Regions from separate parts of the Homo sapiens genome. Here all the other regions are linked to region 6. Evidence: promoter capture Hi-C in 16 types of primary human blood cells and fetal thymus (Javierre and others, 2016). All regions are on one chromosome and are shown on one strand. Each heading gives the region's core, a stretch centred on a gene start or on the middle of the fragment in contact. The rest is flanking DNA. Distances are from core to core; before and after follow the strand shown. Region 1 holds the start of BBS10 (Bardet-Biedl syndrome 10). Region 2 overlaps NAP1L1 (nucleosome assembly protein 1 like 1). Region 3 has its middle 13 kb from the start of PHLDA1-AS1. Region 4 overlaps OSBPL8 (oxysterol binding protein like 8). Region 5 has its middle 70 kb from the start of NAP1L1. Region 6 holds the start of GLIPR1 (GLI pathogenesis related 1).

Region 1 (2,700 bases), core at 182-2,681, 870 kb before region 6:
GAGAAAAGCAGAGATCAAAGAGGTTACTTGGTGAATGCCACAGGTAAGGAAATGACAGAGCAAATCCAGGTCTGAATCCAAAGCCCATGCTCTCAAGTGCCTGTGTTTTAGGCCAGGCAAGGTGGCTCATGCCTGTAATCCTAAAACTTTGGAAGGCCAAGTTGGGAGGATCACTTGAGGCCAGGAATTCAAGATCAGCCTGGGCAACACAGGGAGACCCTGTCTCTACTAAAAGAGAAAATAACCAGGCGTAGTGAGGCACAAAGCGACTTGAAGGCTAAGACAGGAGGATCACGAGCTCAGGAATGCGGAGCTGCAGTAAGCTATGATCTCGCCACTGCACTCCAGCCTGGGCGGCAGAGTGAAACTTCATCTCTTAAAAAACAAAAAAAATGTTATAAGAGACAGTATTTTCTGTCTTTGGGTTATATACAATAATCCTTGGCCATGTGTTTTAAAGCATACTGTTGATCACCGACGTGATTAATGGATTTAAATCTGCACAGCGGCTCATGCCTGTAATCCCAACACTCTGAAAGGCCGTGGCAGGTGGATCATTCAGGTCATGAGTTCGAGACCAGCCTGGTCAACATGGTGACATCCCCATCTCTACTAAAAATACAAATATTGGCGGGGCACAGTGGCGTATGCCTGTAATCCCAGCTACTTGAGAGGCTGAGGCACGGGAATCGCTTGAGCCCGGGAGGCGGAGGTTGCAGTCAGCCGAGATTGCGCCACTGCACTCCAGCCTGGGCGACAGAGCGGGAGTCCATCTCAAAAAATAGAGACTTCGCATCATTTCTGCTTAATATATTTGTGGTGTCTAGAGTTTTATTGTGATACCTGAGTCTAGGAAATGTGGTAAAGCCTCTGCAGCAGACATAAAGCCTGCAATTCATGGCTGTGGCCAGGCTCTCCTCACCTGTCCTGCATCTACAAATTATTTCCGTTATGGTAAGGAGAGCAACTCGTGGGGAATGTGGACAGGAACATGCGTGAATCCAAGGCAGAGGTTTTGCCCCGGAAAAAGCAGCTTCTGGCAGGGGATGAAAGCCAGCAGAGTTCCAACCGGGGTGCCCTCTCCTTCACGCAGGCCCCACTACCGTGTTGACTTAGGAAGAAAGTTTCTCGGGAGACTAAGGGATTTGGGGGCAGCGGACGCCACTGGAGGGAGATGAATTCACCTAGGGAGCCGGGGAGGGGCTTAGGGTTGCCGCTCCAGGCACAGCTGCTGGAAATCCTAGTCTGTTTTTTCTGCCTTCGCGTACAACGGGCCAGCTCACCCCACCTGGCAAAGCTGCAGGGCTTTTCCACCAGGCGGACAGAAGGGCAGCCCTCTCGCCCAACCAAGAAGCCGTGCTACCCCGGCTTCGACTCCTGGCTTCCGGGTTTTCTCCCCGCCTATTCCGTTTCCGGCCGTTCCCACCCCTGTTTTCGGTCGGCCCGGGTGTTCTGCAAGCTGGTCAAAAAGGGGAAGCGGCCCAGATATGTTAAGTTCTATGGCCGCTGCAGGGTCTGTGAAGGCGGCGTTGCAGGTGGCCGAGGTGCTGGAAGCCATCGTGAGCTGCTGCGTGGGGCCCGAGGGACGGCAAGTTTTGTGTACGAAGCCCACTGGCGAGGTGCTTCTCAGCCGGAATGGAGGCCGCCTCCTGGAGGCGCTACACTTAGAGCATCCCATAGCCAGGTACCCGCGTCCCACACGCTAACCCGTAGCCGGGCACCCCAGGCAGCCTCTGTGGAGCTCTTGTCCCATCCTGAGGCGATGCGTACTTAGAAAGACTGACCTCGGGTGAAACCGCTGTATGCTCGGAATTAGAGCCCTGCCCAAGGGAACACTCCTGCACCCCAAATCTTACCAATTCTCAAGACCACTTCTCCCCACTCCACCCAACGGTGGAATCTTGGAATAGAGCAGAGTTTTTTCCAAGAAAGGAAAAAACTAAGGATGTATCCAAGGAACAATATTCTCATTTTATGCTTATGGCTGTGTAAACATGGTTTTAAGATGTGGGAAGCCAGCCTTCTGAAAATGAGTTGCTTTATTTCTTTTTTGTACAGGATGATAGTGGACTGTGTTTCCAGTCATCTCAAAAAAACAGGAGATGGTGCAAAAACATTTATTATCTTTCTTTGCCATTTGCTTAGAGGACTTCATGCAATCACAGACAGAGAAAAGGATCCTTTGATGTGTGAAAACATTCAAACCCATGGAAGGCATTGGAAAAATTGTTCTCGGTGGAAATTTATTTCCCAGGCTCTCCTAACGTTTCAGACACAAATATTAGACGGTATTATGGACCAGTACCTAAGTAGACACTTTTTGTCTATCTTTTCGTCTGCTAAAGAGAGAACATTGTGTAGGAGCTCTTTAGAGTTGCTCTTAGAAGCATACTTTTGTGGAAGAGTGGGAAGAAATAATCATAAATTTATTTCACAGTTGATGTGTGACTACTTTTTCAAGTGTATGACTTGTAAAAGTGGGATTGGTGTATTTGAGTTAGTGGATGACCATTTTGTAGAGTTGAATGTTGGTGTCACTGGCCTTCCTGTTTCAGATTCCAGGATCATAGCTGGTCTTGTGCTTCAGAAAGATTTTTCTGTGTACCGCCCAGCAGATGGTGACATGCGAATGGTGATAGTAACAGAAACCATTCAGCCTCTTTTTTCCACTTCTGGATCAGAGTTTATTCTAAATTCAGA
Region 2 (2,700 bases), core at 58-2,557, 570 kb before region 6:
AGAACAAATTTGTAAAAGGCAAAAGTAAGTATTTCTGGCTTGGCTTATAGGACAAAAAAAGAGAACATAAAGCAGTGTGAATTTCAGGTGAGAAAAACTACTTTAAGTATTAAGATAGAGCATCACACTATTTTCATATCAGTGGATGGGTTGGAGTTTGTGTTCAAGTTTGGGGTTTTTTTTTGTTTGTTTGTTTGTTTGTTACTAAATATTGATGATGACAAAACAGTCTAGTTAAGGATAGAAAACCTCCACCTGTGGTTTGAATTCCTCCCCACCCCCTTTTGGATTTTTCTATTTATTAGATTATGTTGTTGACTCAAACATTCATGGAATTCACAGAGGGTGTGCTCATTGTTTAGTATCATAGAACTTGTATCATTGTTTAGTATCATAGAAGTGGGATTATTTTATTTTATTATTATTATTTTTTTTTTGAGATGAAGTATTGCTCTGTCATCCAGGCTGGAGTGCAGTGGTGCGATCTCCACTCACCACAACCTCTGCCTCCCGGGTTCAAGCAATTCTCCTGCCTCAGCCTCCCGAGTAGCTGGGATTACAGGCACGTGCCATTGAACTCGCTAATTTTTGTATTTTTAGTAGAGACGGGGTTTCACCATGTTGGCCAGGCTGGTCTTGAACTCCTGACCTCAGGTAATCTGCCTGCCTTGGCCTCCCAAAGTCCTGGGATTACAGGCATGAGCCAGGCCAAAGTGGGATTATTTTAATTGTGAATAATGTCAGACCCACTTTTGCCCTGTGCTTTTCTATTAAATAGAAATCCTAAGCCAGGTACAGCTTCAGGCACCTGTAGTCCCAGCTGCTCTGGTGGCGGAGGTGGAAGGATCACTTGAGGCCAGCCTGGGCAACATAGCGAGACCCTGTCTCTAAAAAAGAAAAGTGCTAGGGGCACCTGATTTAGTTAGTATATTGTCTTTCTGAACTAGGACTGTCTCATTTGGGATTAGTAGACTTAAAACTGTACAGCTGTTTGGGTACTGTCTTTTAGGAACTATAAAGTGATCCTCTGTGGTTGTTTATTATGTCCTTCTATTTGCTATGTACTTAACAATATTAACAATAACTATATATTAACAATAACCCAAGGGTTTTTTTTTTTATTTTTCTATTTGGTGTTTTCAATAATATTTTAAAAGGAAAATTGCGGACATGTAACAGTTGCTTTTATGTATTTATGTTTAAACCAGCAAAAACTAAGCAGTTCTAATTTTTATTCTTCACAATTTATCTTAGTATGCATACTGGCCTGCTAGCTTATTTTCTTTTTGTTAAAAACTTGGAAAAGTTATTAAGGAAATTTAAAAATGACAAATCATTTGTTAACATGGTGTGAGAAAAATCATGGAAAGTAAAAAGTAAAGTTGAGCATTTCTTCCCTTCATCATATAATTTAAACTGAAGAGTCTGTCTTTTTTTTTTTTTTTTTTCGGTTGCCCAGGCTAGAGTACACTGGTGTGATCACAGCTCATTTCAGCCTCAAGCTGCTGGGCTCCAGCAATCTTCCCACCTCAGCCTCTCAAGTAGCTGAGACTACAGGCGTGTGCCACCCTGCCCAGTTAATTGTTTATTTTTTGTACAAACGCAGGGGGCGTCTCACTATGTTGCTTAGGTTGCTCTTGAACTTCTGGGCTCAAGTGATCCTCCTACTTTGGCCTCCTGAAGTGTTGGGACTACAGTTGTGAGCCATCACACCCAGCCTCTAAGAGTCTTACATGTGCCAAATTAAGTAACACAGTTATTCCTAAATTTTCTGCTTTTGTTTTCCTTTAAAAATAGGATGATGATGCTGAAGCTATCCTTGCTGCAGACTTCGAAATTGGTCACTTTTTACGTGAGCGTATAATCCCAAGATCAGTGTTATATTTTACTGGAGAAGCTATTGAAGATGATGATGATGATGTAAGCGAATTTGAATCCTGCAAAGAAATAATTGGTTGAGGGTATAGTGGTCAGAATTGGTAATAGATTAGTTTAGTTTTTAAGAAGCAGGACATAATATAATTCAAAATTAGGCTAATTACTGATGTTCTGTATATAGCTTTTCTGGGTTTTAAGTATGTCTCCTTAGGATTTTTGGATTCATTTATCTTAGCTTTTAATTTTCTGCTAATAAGATTGTTCTGAGTTTATGAAACTTTTTTATGTTTGGTTAGTGCTATAGATCTATTATGCCCTTGCCTTGACTTCACAGAGCTAGGACTTTCTTTAGTGCACAAGAAAACATTTACTGGGAGGCATAGAATTTCTATTCAAGGTAGTATTGAATGATGGTTAGGTTAAGATTAGGTTGCATATAGATGTTTTGAATATGTTTATTGCTCAACGGCAATTGTTAGAGTAGGCTTTAGGTCCTTTTCGTACAGTGCATTCCACACTTAAGTGTAGGTGAGTAATATTTACAGTAATACTTGTCTGATCATCCACTTTATCCACATGATTGTACTCTGTTCTTTAATTTTATAAATTGGCAGTGAGCAGAGTGATTCTTGCAGCTACTATGTGTTTTAATTTATAATCAGCCCCTTGATAGGAAAGTAGGTTTTCTCTTTTTAGACACTAGTTTATACAGTGATAAATGTTACTGATGCTACTCTGAAATGTGTGTTACATTCACTCAACACTTAACGCTGTTTTTCCTTTTCAGTATGATGAAGAAGGTGAAGAAGCGGATGAGGTAAT
Region 3 (2,700 bases), core at 105-2,604, 540 kb before region 6:
AAGTGATTTGAATGTTTATACAGTTACTTGAGGAGGTAGCTGCCTAGATTTGTAGCCTGTGTAGGTGTTGGGAGAAATATTTTCTGAAAAGGTTGGTTGAGGGTAGTGGATCTATGGGCACTGGTGAGATCCTAATACGTGGAGTGATAAAAATTTGTTGCTGCCCTTCTGGGCAACTAGGTGAATGCAATTCACATAGCTCCAAATTAAACCATAAATAACAGTTTTTGACCTACCTAGGATATTAAGAACTTCAAACCACACAATGTTTTCTTGTGTGCTTCTTTTACTTAAGGATTTAACTTGGAGAAGATTTTAGAGTTTGTAATAACTTTTCATGAAAGGATAGGGAGAAAAAAGGAGCAGGATCTTTAATAAGTAGATGTACTTCTGCATCCAGCAATCCGGCTTTTAATTCAAAATTGTGTATGTGCTCTGGGTGATGCCAACATTTCCTCTTACATAAAGTGACCTTTTACGGGGTTTCATTCATAGCACTTGGCTCCCTCCTGGAGTCACAGTGCTTGTCACAAGGCAGTGGATTGCCTGCTGGTTCTTATGCAAGTGATGACTGGGAGGGCTGATAGGGGGTAACGCGGACAGCCTCTCTCTCTGACAGCAGATTGTCAGCATTCTTGACCCGGGCACTCTAAGAGCCTGGGAAAACACTTTGATTTCAATGTGGCTTTAAAAAATGATATTCAGTTGAACCAAATGACTGTGTAAAATAGGACCACAGGGCAGGCCAGGAGCGGTGGCTCATGCCTGTAATCCCAGCACTTTGGGATGCCAAGGTGGGCGGATCACCTGAGGTGAGGAGTTCAAGACCAGCCTGGCCAACATGGTGAAACCCCTTCTCTACTAAAAATACAAAAAATTAGCTGGGCTTGGTGGCAGGCGCCTGTAATCCCAGCTACTCGGGAGGCTGAGACAGGAGAATTGCTTGAACCCAGGAGGCGGAGATTGCGGTGAGCCAAGATCACGCCATTGCACTCTAGCCTGGGCAACAAGAGTGAAACTCCGTCTCAAAAAAAAAACACCCTGTTGTTACAGATAAATCAAAATAAGTGTATTAAGATAAAGATTTACTTCTCTTTTATGTAAAAGTAACCTAGATGTGGGTGGCCCAGGGTGGGTAAGGTGACTTTAGTTTGTCACAGATCCGGGTTCCTTCTTTCTTTTCTCTTCTACCACCCTTGGTACAGGACTTCTAGCCTCATGATTCAAGATGGCTGCTGGAGTTCCAGCTACCATATTCGAGCTCTAGAACAGGAAGAAAGAAAATTAGGGAAACAGCAGCTCACTGCAGCCTCAACCTCCTGGGCTCAGGTGATCCCCCTGCCTCAGCCTCCTGAGAAGCTGGGATCACAGGCACGCACCACCACACTCAACTAATTTTTAAATTATTTGTAGAGACAGGGTCTCCCTATGTTGCCCAGACTTGTCTCGAACTCCTGGACTTAAGTGATTCTCTCAACTTGGCCTCCCATAGTGCTGGGATTACAAGTTTGAGCTACCATATCCAGCCTAGAAAAATTTTGGAATCCCAATATGGTGACTTCCACTTAACACCACATTTGCTATCCAGGGTTGCAAAGGAGGGCTAGAAATGTACTGGCCAAATTGCCATCCCAAATAAAATTAGGGTTCTGTCAGCAAAGAAGGAGGGGAGAATGGTTATTGGAAAGGAAACTAGCAGCCTCTATTATAGGTCTTATTAGCCTCTACTTAATAGATAAGAAATTGAGGATTGGGGAACTGAAGAAACTTGCCAAATAAACAGCAGGATGAGAATTGTTATCTGGGTATTTAACTCCACTGCCTTTGCGCTTAAACGCTATGCAAACTGTGGCTGTGTGCTAGCACTAAAATACGATGCAGACCTCTCTCAGAGATGGGAATGCTCTTAAAGACATTAATTTAGAGTATTTTAGGTATTCTTTTTTTTTTTTTTTTTTTTTTGAGACGGAGTCTTGCACTCTCACCCAGGCTGGAGTGCAGTGGCGTGATCTCGGCTCACTGCAAGCTCTGCCTCCCGGGTTCACGCCATTCTCCTGCCTCAGCCTCCCGAGTAGCTGGGACTACAGGCGCCCACCACCACACCCAGCTAATTTTTTTTGTATTTTTAGTAGAGAAGGGGTTTCACCATGTTAACCAGGATGGTCTCGATCTCCTGACTTCGTGATCCGCCCGCCTCGGCCTCCCCAAGTGCTGGGATTACAGGCGTGAGCCACCGCGCCCGGCTATTTTAGGTATTCTTATAATTCTTACTAAGGTTTACACTTTCCTTTCTCATATGGTACTGTTGTAATGATTTTCAATTGGTCCTTCGTTACATCTGAACAATTTAAATAGAACAAAACTAAATTTCAAAACAGAAATACGTAGTTGCTTTCAGTGCCTTCCTGTCAGAGTCATATTGACATGGTAAAGATATAAGAAAGATCGAAGGTTCTTAGCGGAAACTGGAGCAATAAAGCCAGAGACACCATCAGTGGTGCTTGCTGGTTTTGCAGAAGCTAGCTCCCTTAGAGACGTCATGTCCAGCACCAATCACAGAGTCTATCAAAAGATCCAAATCAAGAAAACAGGAGAAGAATCTCAGGCTTTTCATTCATGCTCAACAAGAGGAGCATGCTTTTACACTATCCCGGGAGATTCCTCAAGGGTCAACAAAGAGTAGTAGAAAGAATCCTAGAT
Region 4 (2,700 bases), core at 191-2,690, 890 kb before region 6:
GTCCTAGCTACTTTGGAAGGTCATTGGGTAAGTATTTTGTATATGAGCTTTACAAAAAGAATTTTATTCTGTGGGAAAAAAAAAATCACATTTAAAATTTAAAACTTATTCCGTTGCTGAAAACATCACTATTTAACATAAGCTTCATCTTAATAGCAGATATTTTGGTGGTGTTCTGTTATCAACAGTAGTTAATTTTGTGTAATATTTTATTTCCAAAACTTAAAATCAGTAGAAATAGCTAACACTTATATATGACTTACTGCATTATTTAAGAATGTTACTCATATTAACTGATTTAATATTTATAACATATAACGCTATGAGGTGAGTATATAGGTGCCATGCCCATTTTATTATTGTTTATTATTGTCCCCATTTTACAGAAGAGGACACTGAGGCACAGAGAGTTCACATAATTTGCTCAAAGTAGGTAGTGGAACAAGAATTAAAGCCCAGGAACCCTGGCCCCAGGACTGTGCTTTTATGCACAGCACTCTACTCACATAGAAGAAAGAGGCATAGTTCCAATTAGAGTTATATTCCTTTCAGTGGAACATGGAAAGGATATAGTGGTGTGTGAGAGCAATGGCTTTTATTTACTTCTCTGCTAACCTAAATTCATATTTATGTAATTTTGTTAAGAGACGCTTAAATGAATAAAAAGAATCATGGTACTGCATGGATATACCATACTATGAGCACTGAGTATATGCTCCTTTCTGCATGCAGTAAGCAGAAAATGTTGAGAAATATGAGAAAGTGAAGTTAGGGACTTTGTTAAGTGGCCACATACACTCTGAAAATTTTTTTTAATTGCCTTAAATCTGAGAGTCTTCTGGAAAAAAGATAAAGCAGCAGTCATTTTTAAAAAATGAAATTTCTGTCTGGGTGGGGTGGCTCACACCTATAATTCCAGCACTTTGGGAAGCTCAGGAGTTTGAGATCAGCCTGGGTGACATAACAAGACCTCTTCTCTACTAAACATAAAAATAAAAAAATTAGATGGGCATGATGGCACATGCCTGTCCCAGCTACTCAGGAAGCTAAGGCAGGAAGATTGCTTGAGCCTGGGAGGTGGAAGCTGCAGTGAGCCATGATTGTGCTACTGCCCTCCAGCCTGGGTGAGAAAGCAAGACCCTGTCTCAGACAGATAGATAAGATAGAGATGAGAGTGAGAGATGACAGAGAGAGAGAGAAGGAGAAGGATGGTTAAACAGGTAGATAAATTAGATAGGTAAAATAGATTAGATAGATAAGGTAGATAGCACCGCTGCACTCCAGCCTACACAAGAGAGCAAGACCGTCCATGTCTTAGATAGAAAGATTATTCGATAGAGATAGACCTCAAATTTTTAATGCTAGTAAAGGCTCTTTCAGAGGGATGTGTGTGTGTGTATGTTTGAGTATATTGAATCCATGGATAGTCAACAGCATCTCATTGTAGCTGCAACAAATACTATGCTCTACTTGGACAGTTTGGAGATGGTTATTGAGGCTTTGCATGTAATGTTTGAAATTTATTAAGTAAAACTTATGAAATTTCACAAACTGGATATTCAACCAAATTCTTTTTAATTAACTAGTATTACGTAGTCAATCTTAATGTTTTTATAAAAATGATAAGAAACTTGGAGTTTTTGGAAAAGTGCTAGTTATATTTGTTTTAAAAATGCTTTTAACTGGAGGATTAACCAGAAGAAATTATCACCGTCATATTACTATACTATATAATTGCCTTCTAAGTATAATTCTTTACATTAATTTTGAATTTTTTTAAATATAGGATAGTGAAGTTTTTATTACTGATAAAAAGACTGATAATTCAGAGGTTTTCTGGAATCCAACACCTGACATTAAGCAATGGAGATTAATAAGGCACACTGTAAAATTTGAAGAACAGGGAGATTTTGAATCAGAGAAGTAAGTATACTGTTTTACAGCTAACTTCATGAGGATCAGAGAGTAGTTTTTCAATTCCTTAATGATATGGTCATTTTGTCACCTTCTGTCATATCTTAATTCAGCAAAATAGTTTATCATTTGTGGAAGTGACAGTATTCTGTTTTTGTGTATATGAATGTCAAATATAATATAAATCGTCTTGCTTTTCTGTAGCTCAAAACTACTCATTTTTTTCTTTCTCAATTGTTCCAGCACCTTAAAAAAAAAGAAAGAAAGAACGTTTTTGTTTAAATAAGATTACAGGACTAATTAATGACTCTTAGTTTCTACCTGGCAACAGTTTTCTAACCTGATTTAAGCATTAGAACTCTAGGTAAAGGGAGTGGTGCAGAATCTACTTCTGTTCCATTCTCTGATACAAAAGTAAAGTTACTGGATGGACTGGCTTCTATAGGATTTATTAGTTGGGTAATAACTAAGGCTATCATTTCTGTTCTTAAGTCATGAACTTCTTGCTAGATGGCTTATATTTTTGAATCAGAAATATTGTATACACATTCCCTATTTTATTGTTGTTATATCTTTGTGTTAAGAGAAAGAGACTTATGTATAAGAGATATTTTGCTAGGCACTTAGTACTTATTATGCAACTTTGTCCTCCCTACATGTTTGCACATACATATCATTCTCTGTCATGGGAATTCAAGTCTGTGTACCTTCCCTTCTACACTCAAATTTGAGGTTGTCAAAGATGGAAGAATGTATATGTACCAGTTCTAAAAATTCTGTCTCAGC
Region 5 (2,700 bases), core at 36-2,535, 670 kb before region 6:
AAAATATTATGTCACCCAGCTTGTGAGAGGCAAAGTAAGAACTCTAAGCCAGAACCCAGATCATATTGTAGCAATCATTCAAAAAAGAAATGACAGTTTTCATCTTCTGATTTGTGCTATACATTTTGGCAATATCCTTAATATCTTGTGAGTGAGAATCTACTAAAAGGAAGTTGCCCAGCTTAGATATGAAGAAGTGGAACATGGCATGCTATAGAACAAAGTACATTGGACTAGAGATTGAGATTTGAGTTCCGCCCTCAGCTCAACAAATGACAACTGCTGTGACCTTGAGCAAGTCACCACATTTTGCTGGGCCTCCAGTTCCTCATCTACAAAATGATGTCTTAGCATTAGGAAACTTTCATCACAAGAAACATTTTGCAAAATCCCAATGTGTAAAACAGATAACAGATAAGAGAGCTCTGGTGGAGGAGGGGCCGAGGGGCCCAAGACCTAACTTTTTTTTTTTTTTTTTTTTTTGAGACAGAGTCTTGCTCTGTTGCCCAGGCTGGATTGCAGTGGCGTGATCTCTAGTCACTGAAACCTCCACATCCCGGGTTCATGTGATTCTCCTGCCTCAGCCTCCCGAGAAGCTGGGATTACAAGCATGTGCCACCACGCCCAGCTAATTTTTGTATTTTTAGTAGAGATGGGGTTTCGCTATGTTGACCAGGCTGCTCTCAATCTCCTGACCTCAGGTGATCCACCCACCTTGGTCTCCCAAAGTGCTGGGATTACAGGAGTGAGCCACCATGCCTTGTCCTGGGCCTAACTTTTTGGTCTTGCTTTTCCACTTGGAATCAATAGTGGCCAAGGCCCCTTTATAAGCTTAGGGCACTGAACCACATTACTATAAATTCCCTCTCAATGTTTATGTTTTAACAGTTATTTCCTTTCTCCTAGGCTTTTCCAAAATGTGAGGCATATGGAAAATTCAGGCAACACCCTGTTACTTATTCATCACTTAAGCCATGTTTTGGCTCAGAAGATACCAAGCAAAGCTGAATATTACTGTATTTCAGAAAGGGGAGTATTTCTTCAGTGCTCATCTTGGGGGTCTTCATAAAAAATGATTGACAGCTGACAGCTAATGTCTATTTTCACTTCATTGCCTTATGGGAAGAGATAACCATGAGCAGGCCATTTGGGAAAGTGAGGAATATTATCTAAGAATCATGATCCACAGAACCTGTTCACGGGTGAGGAGAAAGGGACGAGGTAGGGGGAAAACATCCCTAGCACAACCAGATTCTCCCCCATTATAAACGAGGAAAGTAAAAAACAGGGTCATGCTGCATTAATGTCTAGGTTTATTAGACTTACTACTTTTCTGGGCACAGTGGTAGACTTACTACCTTTCTGTAGTCCCAGTGATTCAGGAGGGTGAGGCAGGAGGATTCCTTGAGGCCAGGAGTTTGAGATTAGCCTGGGCAACATAGACCCTGTCTCAGAAAAATCAAAAAGAATTACTACCTTCCTCACACTGAAGGATTCTCAAACATTATTACATGGAGAATGAGCTCTCTTTGTGACCGTTCTCTAGAGGTTTTGACTCACTACTCTCTGTCTCTCACCCAGGGATTGAGTCTCAGCTAAATCCCTTTTCCATCAGTCACCAAAGATGCCCATTCACTAAATTATGCATACATGTTTTTTTGCCCAGCGAGGCCAGATCTATTTGCTCTTATAGAAAAATAAAGCATTTTTGCTGTTTTCCTTTTGTTTCTGCAAGCTTTTAGTCCATGGTGACATCATGGAAGCTTAAAACTTGAGAAGCCTACTCTCACAGCCCATGGACAGCCTTTCCTCACCCCAACCCCATCTATAATCACCACACTTTGGTCCAACTGCAACTGCTCTGTGTGGCATCAAGTTCTACAGGTAATCTGAAACTAAAATCATGAAAGAAAAGTAGGATTTGTGTTGTCGAATGGGATTTTTTTTTTTCGACTTGCCTGATTTGCAACTCAATCAGCAGGTAAGGCTAAAATAAAATATACAATCCAGGCCAGGCGTGGTGGTGCATGCCTGCAATCCCAGCACTTTGGGAGGCTGAGGCGGGTGAATCACTTGAGGTCAGGAGTTTGAGACCAGCCTGGCCAATATGGTGAAGACCCGTCTCTACTAAAAATACAAAAATTAACTGGGCGCGGTGGTGAGTGCCTGTAATCCCAGTTACTTAGAAGGCTGAGGCAGGAGAATTGCTGGAACCTGGGAAGTGGAGGTTGCAGTGAGCCAAAATCACACCACTGCCCTCCAGCCTTGGTGACAGAGTGAGACTCAGTCTCAAAAAAAAAAGTGCATATATATATATATATATAAATTTATATATATATTATATATATACACACACACAATGGCGGATGCTTTGTCTATATTTCTAAAATGTTAAGCTTCATACAAACTATGTACTGGTGGTGAATTGCAAAAATGACTATAATTTTTTCCCATCTCTGTAAGCATACCTCTTTAAAATGTGAATTTGAAGCTCCTCCCACCAAGAGGTAGATTCTATTTCACCATACCTTGCGTCTGGGCTTGGCTGTGTGACTTGATTTAGAAAATGAGACTAGCAAATAAGAAGCAAGCAGAGACTTGCACATTATGCCTTGTTCTCTTTTGCTGTGGTTAGAACCCTGAGATCTCCATGTGGAGGAGCCCAAACTGGCATGCTGAAAGATGAAAGGAGAAAGTATG
Region 6 (2,700 bases), core at 98-2,597:
ATAATATAGGGCAGATCCTTACCTGAGTGTAGTGGCCACAGACTTTTTTGCATATCCGAGTCTTGAAGTCATAGTCCTGGATTTCGTCATACCAGTTTGTGATGGCGGAAGACACAGAAAAAATGGGCACAGACCCAGTCCAGATGTTCTCTCCCAGTGAAGTGAAGTTTGGGTGCAGCTTGTGGGGTGGCTTCAGCCGTGTATTATGTGAAAACTGGCAATTGCTGGCCCATGCTTTTGCAATTTGGGCTAGTGCTGGGTCCCAAGTCTGCAAAAATAAACATTAAACAATAGGGGGTTCATCTGAAATGTAACTGGGGTGAGTACAGTGGGAATTTGAATGGAAAACGAGGTGAGATAAGGAGAGAAGATACCACTGCATATGAGTCCTCTATAAATATGGTCTTCAAGCACTGAGTAGGGCTGGTAGGAAACGTGACAATTTAGTTTCATGGAATTTAGAATCTAAGTGAGGAAAACTGACATTTCACTGAAGGCTAATTGTGGGCAAAATAGTGTGTGCCGTGTTTCACAACATTATTCCATAACCACAACAGCCCATATCCTAAGAAGTTCAGAAAGGTTAAAAACCAGCTTAAAGCCACAGATCTGAAATTCAATCCCAAGCCTTACTGAATCAAAATCCCATCCTTTCCCCAGATGCCATTCTGCCTACCTGAGCAACTCAGTACTTTGTCAGCAGCAAAAAAAGTAAATTTAGAGACAAAAAAAAAAAAAAAAAAAGAAAACCAAATCACAAAAATTAACAGGGAGGAAGATAACAAAAAGAGAAGTAAAATCCACTGAAAACCAGAAAACAGGAAGTGTCCAAAGAGAAGTAAAATGTGCTGTGGCACTTGCTTATAACAACAGTTGGGTAGACAGAGCTAAACTGGATGTGTTTTGATCACAGACTGTGAATTTACTGCATACATTAATCACAATGAAAAAAAAATCATTCAGTATTACGAAGGTATTAACACCAAAGTCAATACACATTAGTTGTTTCTGACTGACTGACGCCACAATTAATGATATTTTCCTTACCATGTATAGCATATCACTGGCTGTTGGTTTCACCTCTGATCGGAACTTGTTATGGATTCGAACGCAGTCTTTGATGAAATCTTCATTTTCGATATCTGGCAAAATATTTGCTGTGTGTGAATAATTGGAGACAAAAGAAACCATCCAGGCTATTGTAGCAAGTGTGACACGCATGCTTTGTCTGGCATGGAGCCTTGGGAGGCTGCAGTCCAGAGCCGCCGCAGTTTCTGAGAGTGTGATTGCCTGAGTGCTCAGCCCACAGCTTTGCAAACCTAGCCGACTTCAGCTTTGAGAAAACAGAACAGAGCATGAGTTCATCACTAGTTTTAAGAAACGGGTTTCTCCATATATGGTGTGCAGCTCACTTTGTGTTCTTAACCCTGTCTTTTCAGTGGTTTTCAGTGACACAGCACCTATTACGACATAGATTTTTATGAGGCTGTGTCAGACTTCCTTTTGAATTGGGAGATATTTCCAAAGAAAATTCTGAAGTCTCCAGGAATAATAGTCTCCAATTTTTAATGGAGGTTGCGGTGATAAAATGAAAATATCTCTTACTTCTATAAATGCCTCGCAAAATGCTTTCAGAAATCTTTTTCTTTTTAGAGTCATATCAACACATAGTGGTTGGAATATCTGGTTAACATCATAAACTTGACCTAGAATTCATTCACGATGGTAGAAACATGTAAGCGTGTATGTGTGTGTGTGTGTGTGTGTGTGAGAGAGAGAGAGGGAGAGAAAGAGAGAGAGAGAGAAAGAGAGAGAGGGATTGAGAGGGAGAATAGTAGAAAGAATACAGGACTCAAGTTGAGAATTTAGTTTCTGTTTCTAACTAGCTGTAAGACCTTGGACAGGATACAAAACTCTCTAAACCTCAGCCACCTATTGAATGAGACTATGGGACCTTTTCTGCTTCCTTAATTACAGAGGTTTGGCAGGATCAAATGAACTAGCTAATATTAAATTCCTGCCTTGTATATTCACCTTAGTAATACAGAAATAAAAACACAGTCACTGGCCCCAAGGAGCTTACAGTGGTAAGAGCTGTGAGATGGTGATGACAAGGATGTTACAACAGGGGCTGTTGGAGATCTGGATATAGGAAAGCACAGGTAGATATGGACACACAAGAGAGCATACTTAACCCATTCTGGAAACGGCAGAGCCGGCCTACATACAGCAGGTGAGGTCTTTGCTGAGGCTAGAATCAGCTAGGTGTTGATCAAGTGAAAAAGCGCTGGAGAGGAGAAGGGAATTAGAGGGATAGGAACTATATATCTAGTTGTGAAATTGAAGACATGGTGTTATGGCAAGAATAGAGCAAGAACCTCTCCATATTGTCTCCCTCTGTAAATATGGTCTGTAAATAAGTAGTGATTCTGACTGGTAGAAAACTTGATACCTGGTGTCATGGAATTCAGAATCCAAATGATGCTTTCATGCCACTTGGGGGAGAGAAGTTAAGAGTCAGATCAGGAAGGATTTCTCAATTCTGCTAATGATTTTTTATTTTATCACCAAAGTCATGGGAAGTTATTGGAGGATTTTAGCTGTAGGTGGGGTTTAGACCTGGTTTTAGAAAACACGTGTATTTTAGAAAATTAAGAGAGATGGAAAATGGAATGAGGTGGGGAAATATTTCTAATGCAA

What was found. The method cuts DNA at HindIII sites, captures the fragments that hold promoters and counts their contacts. A CHiCAGO score of 5 or more calls a contact.
Region 1: a contact is called between the fragment with the promoter of BBS10 here and the fragment with the promoter of GLIPR1 in region 6, in 2 of 17 cell types (naive B cells and total B cells). The highest score is 8.6, in naive B cells.
Region 2: a contact is called between a fragment that was not itself captured here and the fragment with the promoter of GLIPR1 in region 6, in 8 of 17 cell types (activated CD4 T cells, naive CD4 T cells, naive CD8 T cells and 5 more). The highest score is 9.8, in activated CD4 T cells.
Region 3: a fragment that was not itself captured here is called in contact with the fragment with the promoter of GLIPR1 in region 6 in 8 of 17 cell types (naive CD8 T cells, total CD8 T cells, total CD4 T cells and 5 more); the score reaches 11.9 in naive CD8 T cells.
Region 4: a contact is called between a fragment that was not itself captured here and the fragment with the promoter of GLIPR1 in region 6, in 4 of 17 cell types (total CD4 T cells, activated CD4 T cells, monocytes and 1 more). The highest score is 6.4, in total CD4 T cells.
Region 5: a fragment that was not itself captured here is called in contact with the fragment with the promoter of GLIPR1 in region 6 in 4 of 17 cell types (monocytes, M0 macrophages, M2 macrophages and 1 more); the score reaches 6.8 in monocytes.

What each region holds. Positions count from the first base shown.
Region 1 is chr12:76,347,146-76,349,845 of GRCh38, reverse strand. It overlaps BBS10 (Bardet-Biedl syndrome 10), which reads left to right and starts at 1,431. Exons shown (of 2, transcript NM_024685.4): 1 at 1,431-1,684; 2 at 2,059-2,700. The coding sequence starts at 1,488. RefSeq lists enhancers at 1,030-1,079, 226-1,175, 1,176-2,125. The HindIII fragment of the contact is 11,737 bases long and covers 1-2,700 here.
Region 2 is chr12:76,049,751-76,052,450 of GRCh38, reverse strand. It overlaps NAP1L1 (nucleosome assembly protein 1 like 1), which reads left to right. Exons shown (of 15, transcript NM_004537.7): 12 at 1,798-1,920; 13 at 2,666-2,695. Among named protein-coding and RNA genes, the nearest start is that of PHLDA1-DT, 19 kb to the right of the region's middle. The HindIII fragment of the contact is 3,492 bases long and covers 1-2,700 here.
Region 3 is chr12:76,016,183-76,018,882 of GRCh38, reverse strand. No RefSeq gene overlaps it. Among named protein-coding and RNA genes, the nearest start is that of PHLDA1-AS1, 13 kb to the left of the region's middle. The HindIII fragment of the contact is 6,475 bases long and covers 1-2,700 here.
Region 4 is chr12:76,370,671-76,373,370 of GRCh38, reverse strand. OSBPL8 (oxysterol binding protein like 8) reads left to right here. Exons shown (of 24, transcript NM_020841.5): 18 at 1-27; 19 at 1,787-1,923. Among named protein-coding and RNA genes, the nearest start is that of BBS10, 24 kb to the right of the region's middle. The HindIII fragment of the contact is 2,592 bases long and covers 145-2,700 here.
Region 5 is chr12:76,153,705-76,156,404 of GRCh38, reverse strand. No RefSeq gene overlaps it. Among named protein-coding and RNA genes, the nearest start is that of NAP1L1, 70 kb to the right of the region's middle. The HindIII fragment of the contact is 904 bases long and covers 834-1,737 here.
Region 6 is chr12:75,479,402-75,482,101 of GRCh38, reverse strand. It overlaps GLIPR1 (GLI pathogenesis related 1), which reads right to left and starts at 1,347. Exons shown (of 6, transcript NM_006851.3): 1 at 1,048-1,347; 2 at 23-268. The coding sequence starts at 1,221. The HindIII fragment of the contact is 5,495 bases long and covers 1-2,700 here.